Regions from separate parts of the Homo sapiens genome. Here region 1 is linked to region 2. Evidence: promoter capture Hi-C in human tissues and cell types (Jung and others, 2019). All regions are on one chromosome and are shown on one strand. The core of a region is centred on a gene start or on the middle of the fragment in contact, and the rest is flanking DNA. Distances in the headings are between cores, read along the strand shown. Region 1 overlaps GLE1 (GLE1 RNA export mediator). Region 2 holds the start of TRUB2 (TruB pseudouridine synthase family member 2).

The links. The method cuts DNA at HindIII sites, captures the fragments that hold promoters and counts their contacts. A contact is called where the count stands out against the background at its distance.
Region 1: a contact is called between a fragment that was not itself captured here and the fragment with the promoter of TRUB2 in region 2, in 1 of the 25 tissues and cell types used here (pancreas).

What each region holds. Positions count from the first base shown.
Region 1 is chr9:128,516,242-128,519,060 of GRCh38, forward strand. The region is part of intron 3 of GLE1 (GLE1 RNA export mediator); the gene reads left to right. Among named protein-coding and RNA genes, the nearest start is that of GLE1, 13 kb to the left of the region's middle. The HindIII fragment of the contact is 4,090 bases long and covers 1-2,819 here.
Region 2 is chr9:128,321,118-128,324,040 of GRCh38, forward strand. It overlaps TRUB2 (TruB pseudouridine synthase family member 2), which reads right to left and starts at 1,330. Exons shown (of 8, transcript NM_015679.3): 1 at 1,183-1,330; 2 at 482-613. The coding sequence starts at 1,291. COQ4 (coenzyme Q4) reads left to right here and starts at 1,722. Exons shown (of 7, transcript NM_016035.5): 1 at 1,722-1,811; 2 at 1,899-2,030. The coding sequence starts at 1,742. RefSeq lists an enhancer at 1,030-1,569 and a silencer at 1,950-2,009. The HindIII fragment of the contact is 10,812 bases long and covers 1-2,923 here.

The DNA of each region.
Region 1 (2,819 bases), core at 102-2,601, 200 kb after region 2:
GCCACGATGCCCAGTCAGGACCTTAGCCTCTTGAAAAAATAGCAGCACTATTTTAATTAATTTATTTGATTGTATTTTGTTTTTGTTTTTGTTTTTGAGATGGAGTCTTGCTCTGTTGCCCAGGCTGTAGTACAGTGGCACCATCTCGGCTCACCGCAAGCTCCGCCTCCCAGGTTCATGCTATTCTCTTGCCTCAGCCTCCCAAGTAGCTGGGACTACAGGTGCCTGTCACCACGCCCAGCTAATTTTTTGTATTTTTAGTGGAGACAGGGTTTTGCCGTGTTAGCCAGGACGGTCTTGATCTTCTGACCTCGTGATCTGCCCGCCTCGGCCTCCCAGAGTGCTGGGATTACAGGCATGAGCCACCGTGCCCGGCCTGTTTTTTGTTTTTGTTTTTTTGAGACAGAGTCTTGCTGTTGTCAGCCCGGGCTGGAGTGCAGTGGTGCAATCTTGGCTCACTGCAACCTCCGCCTCCTGGGTTCCAGCAATTCTCCTGCCTGAGCCTCCCAAGTAGCTGAGATTACAGGCGCCTGCCACCACGCCTGGCTAATTTTTGTATTTTTTAGTAGAGACGGGGTTTCACCGTGTTGGCCAGGCTGGTCTCAAACTCCTGACCTCAGGTGATCCACCCACCTCAGCCTCCCAAAGTGCTGGGATTACAGGCATAAGCCACTGCGCCCAGCATGTATTTTTTTTTAATTAGGAAAGCAATGCATGATCTTGTAAAAATGTTTCAGAGTACAGGAATTTAGAAAATGAAAGTCTTGGCCAGGCACGGAGGCTCATGCCCGTAATCCCAGCACTTTGGGAGGGTGAGGCAGGTGGATCACCTGAGATAAGGAGTTCCAGACTGGCCTGGCCAACATGGCGAAACCCCATCTCTACTAAAAATACAAAAATTAGCCGGGCATGGTGGCACATGCCTATAATACTAGTTACTGGGGAGGCTGAGGCAGGAGAATCACTTGAACCCGGGAGGCAGAGGTGGCAGTGAGCCAAGATTGTGCCACTGCACTCTAGCCTGGGCAGCAGGGCAATACTTTATCTCAAAAAAAAAAAAGAAAAAGAAAATGAAAGTCTTCTAACATCTTGCCTCATTGGTCATTGAGTCAATAAATATTTGCTGAGCACCTATGTGCTAGATGCTGTTCCAGGTCTAGATAAAACAGTAAACATTATAGACATAGAGCTTATATTGTGGTGGGAAGAGACAGAAGTAAACAAGAGAAATAAGTAAAATATTTGGAACATTGTTGTAATCTGGGTGAAAGATGGTGGTTGCTTAGAGTAGGGTGGTAGCAATGGAGATGGTGAGAAACGACTAATTCTGCATATCAGAGTTGTTTTAATTCAAAGATTTATTTCCTGCATCTTTGGAAATTTTTCCCCTTGATTAGTTCACCTCTCCATTGCCTAAGTTAATCCTCTATATGTCCTATTCTTTCTTTCATTTTCCTTTTGTCTTATTGTTTTGTTTTCTAGAAGATTTCTATATTTTATTCTCCACCTGTTGATTGAAAAAATATATATGTATTTATTATGTCTAATTTTCATGAGTTTTTTTGTATTCTCCACTTCTTCCTTTTTCAGAGCATCTTATTCTCATTTCTTATCATATTCAGAGCTCTTTTTCAGATTCACTTGTGTTCCTTGATATACATGTCCTTCTGGATTCATTATTTTTTATTTGTTCATCTTGATCCCTTTTAGGATATAGAGATTCCTCAGTTATCTAAAGATCCTTATTGCTAGTAATCAGATCAGAGATTCAAGGGGAATAATCAGAAACAAGGTTATTAAGCTTTAGGACTTCCTAAGTGCCAGCATATTGTTTTGGAATACTAGTTCCCATACTGATTAGCTGTTTCTGGACAGTTTATTCATTTTCTTAAAAAAAACTCACGTGCCTGGCCTATTTTTTTTTTTTTCCGTATTCTGTTAGTCACGGTAGTCATAAAGTCCACTCAGGTTGAAGTAGAGGGTATGGAAGGATTGTCAGACAATTTGCAGATCTGTTTTAAAATCATTACAGCACAGGGCCGGGCCTGTTGGCTCACACCTGTAATCCCAGCACTTTCGGAGGCCGAGGCAGGCAGATCACTTGAGGTCAGGAGTTTGACACCAGCCTGGCCAACACAGTAAAACCCTGTCTCTACTAAAAATACAAAAATTAGGCAGGCATAGTGGTGCACGCCTGTAATCCCAGCTACTCAGGAGGCTGAGGCTGGACAATCACTCGAACCTGGGAGGTGGAGGTTGCAGTGAGCCAAAATCGCACCACTGTACTCCAGCCTGGGTGACAGAGTTGAGAATCCGTCTCTAAAAAATAAAAAATAAAAATAAAATAGCTGGACATGGTGGCTTGCACTGGTAATCCCAGCACTTTGGGAGGCCGTGGTGGATGGATCACGAGGTCGGGAGTTCGAGACCAGCCTGGCCAACATAGTGAAACCCCGTCTCTACTAAAAATACAAAAATTAGCCAGGCATGGTGGCAGGCACCTGTAGTCCCAGCTACTTGGGAGGCTGAGGGAGGAGAATCGCTTGAACCCAGGAGGCGGAGTTTGCAGTGAGCCAAGATTGCACCACTACACTCCAGCCTGGGCGACAGAGCGAGACTCCAAAAAAAAAAAAAAAAGCTGGGCACTGTTGCGGGAAGTCAGGGACCCCAAATGGAGGGACTGGCTGAAGCCATGGCAGAAGAACATGGATTGTGAAGATTTCATGGACATTTATTAGTTCCCCAAATTAATACTTTTATAATTTCTTATGCCTGTCTTTACTGCAATCTCTAAACATAAATTGTAAAGATTTCATGGA
Region 2 (2,923 bases), core at 80-2,579:
TGCATCACCTTGAGTGGATTCAACACAGTACTAGGTGCACAGCAAATTCAAGTTTTGCTTTTTGGAACTTTGTGTTTTTCTTCCCAAATACTGCCAATCTGAAGCTGGATCATGGGATGTGGAACTCATGGACTCAGAGGCAACTGTACTTAGTGACACGTGAAAATTACCTGAAGTTCAAATATGAATATTCATAAAGTTCTATTGGAATACAGCTAGGCTCATTCCTTTAGATACTGTCTATAGCTGTTTGGCACTACATTGGCAGAGTTGAGCAGTTCCAACGGAAATCACATGGCCTGAAAACTAAAACATTCAGTATCTGGCCCTTTCCAAGGAAATCTGCCAATTCCTGGTCTAATACCTCACTCCTCTGTGGACCTTCAAGGGCCTGGCACAGGAATCTGAGCACTGGGACACTGACTCGGCTCAGGGATTTCCTGGGAAGTGACACACAGGATCCTGCTTAAATCTGCCTTACCCAGTGGATGGTTGATGAAAGAGGGTACGCTGGTGGCTGTGAGGGTCAGCTCCTTCTCTTCGCTGCCTTCCATGGGGCCCAGCAAGAAGCGAACACGCTGTTTAGGAGCGGGAGGCTTCCTGGCATTGAGACCTGAACACACAGAGATAATATATACACACATACATACAAATATATGTACATATAAAATATTTTTTAAGAGACAGGGCCTCGTTCTGTAGCCCAGGCTGAAGTGCAATGGCGCCATCATAGCTCACTGTAACGTCAAACTCTTGGGCTCAAGCGATCCTCCTGCCTCAGCCTCCAGAGTAGCTGGGATTACAGGCGTGCACCACGATGCTGACCAGGAATATCTTGTTCTGTCCAAACACTTGGGGGATTAGACAACAGGGAAGTATGATGTAGAAGACAAAGCAGAAGCCCATGGTGCAGAGGGCAGTATAGCAGTAGTTAAGAAACAGGCGGATTCAAACAGACTCTACAACGTAGTAACCGTGTGACAAGGAACAATACTGAGTCAGTTTCCCCCTCGGAAAACAGAGGAAAGTGAGGAGTAAGAAAGCACAGAGAACAGGCGTTTGGGAAAGCGCTCTGCCCAGGTGAATAGGTCACGTGATTTTGTTTTGGGGTAAGGACCAGAAGCGGAGATGGACTTCCAAGAGAACGAGAGCGGGAACGTGGGTCTGGTTCGAGGCACTCACCCTTCAGAAGTTGTAGCTCCACTGTATCCCGCAGGTGCTTCCATTTTAGCCCCGGGGGCTTATAGACCGCGAAAAGCCCATGCAGCCGCGACAAGCCAGCAGACCCCATACTTGAAGATCACAGCACCCGCTGGACCTGGACGGAAGTACCGCCAGGCCCCGCCCCCAAATGTGGTCCTTTCCACGGGCGCCGCCATGTTCCACAGCCGGAAGAGGTTCGCATTTTATAGTCTTCGGGGAAAACCGGCTGTGGAGAAGGAAATAGGGCCCGGCGCTGAGTGAGCGTGGTTGCGTGTCCTTTGCAGACACTTTCTGGGGCGAGGTGACATGGCGAGAGTCTTGGATCGGTGGACGTAGACGGTAGACAGTTCGCGTGCGTTTCCTTCGCCTACTTGGCCTACATGCCTTCTGCCCGTGAAGCGATGTTTCCCCTCGAAAGGCCGTAGGCTACGCCGTCAGAATCGGTTTTTCAGTGAGTTTTGACCCCTCCGACGCTCCGTCGCCTGACAGAATCGCGGCGTTCTTCGTACCCGCCCATCCTCCGCGGACGCCCGCTGCCATGGCGACTCTGCTGCGCCCTGTCCTCCGTCGGCTCTGCGGGCTCCCGGGCCTACAGCGGCCTGCGGCAGGCAAGTGGCGCCGGGTTCTGGGCGCAGGCGGGAAGGAGCCTGAGGGCGCCCGGCTCCTCTGACCTCGGCCTTTTTCTTGCCCCGCAGAAATGCCCCTCCGGGCTAGGAGCGACGGCGCCGGCCCGCTATACTCGCACCACCTCCCCACCTCCCCGCTGCAGAAAGGGCTGTTGGCCGCCGGCTCCGCGGCGATGGCGCTCTATAACCCCTACCGCCACGGTAAGGCCGCCCGCGCCTCGCCCCCGTGGGGGCGGCTTGGAGCCGTTTCCTGTGGGTAACTGGAACATAGCCTAGGTCGGGGTACCCAAACCTGGTTGCAGCTCGTAACCACTCGGAACGTTTATGAAAATGCAGATTCCTGGATCCCACCTAAACGCACTGAATCTGAATCTGAATCTGCAGTGGAGGGAGAAATGGGCGTGAAACCGAAAGTCTGTCTTTAAACTACTTGGGAGAATCTGTCATGCAGCCATATTGAGAACATCTAGACTAAATAGATGATTCATAAGTACCGATCAGTTTATAATATCCTACTAGAAAGTCAACTCCGAGGTCGAGGACCATGTCTGCCTCGTTCCACTGCATCTGCAGCCTTCTGGATAGTGCCTGGCACATAGTAAATGCTCAATAAATGTTTGCTGGATGTGTGACTAGAACATTCTAGGGTTCTACAGTGTTTTTCTTATGCCTCCTAGATTTTTGAGTTCTGGGAAGTACTGTTATTCCTACTAACAAAAACAGGCTAGGCGCTATTATAGTGGCTCACGCCTATAATCCCTATCGGGGGGCCGAAGCGGGCAGATGGCTTGAGCTGAGGAGTTTGAAACCAGCCTGGGCAACACGGTGAATCCCCATCTCTACAAAAAAAAATACAAGAATTAATTGGGGCTGGTTGCATGCGGCTGTATTCCCAGGCTGAGGTGGAAGGACCATTTGAGCCGGGGAGTTCGAGACTGCAGTAAGTTGTGATTGCGCCATTGCACTCCAGCCTGGGCGACAGAGCGAGACCCTGTCTTAAACAAAAAATACACTATATCTCCATGTCCCCAGTGGTTTTTTGTTTGTTTTGTTTTGAGACACAGTATTGCTCTGTGGCCCACGCTGGAGTGCAG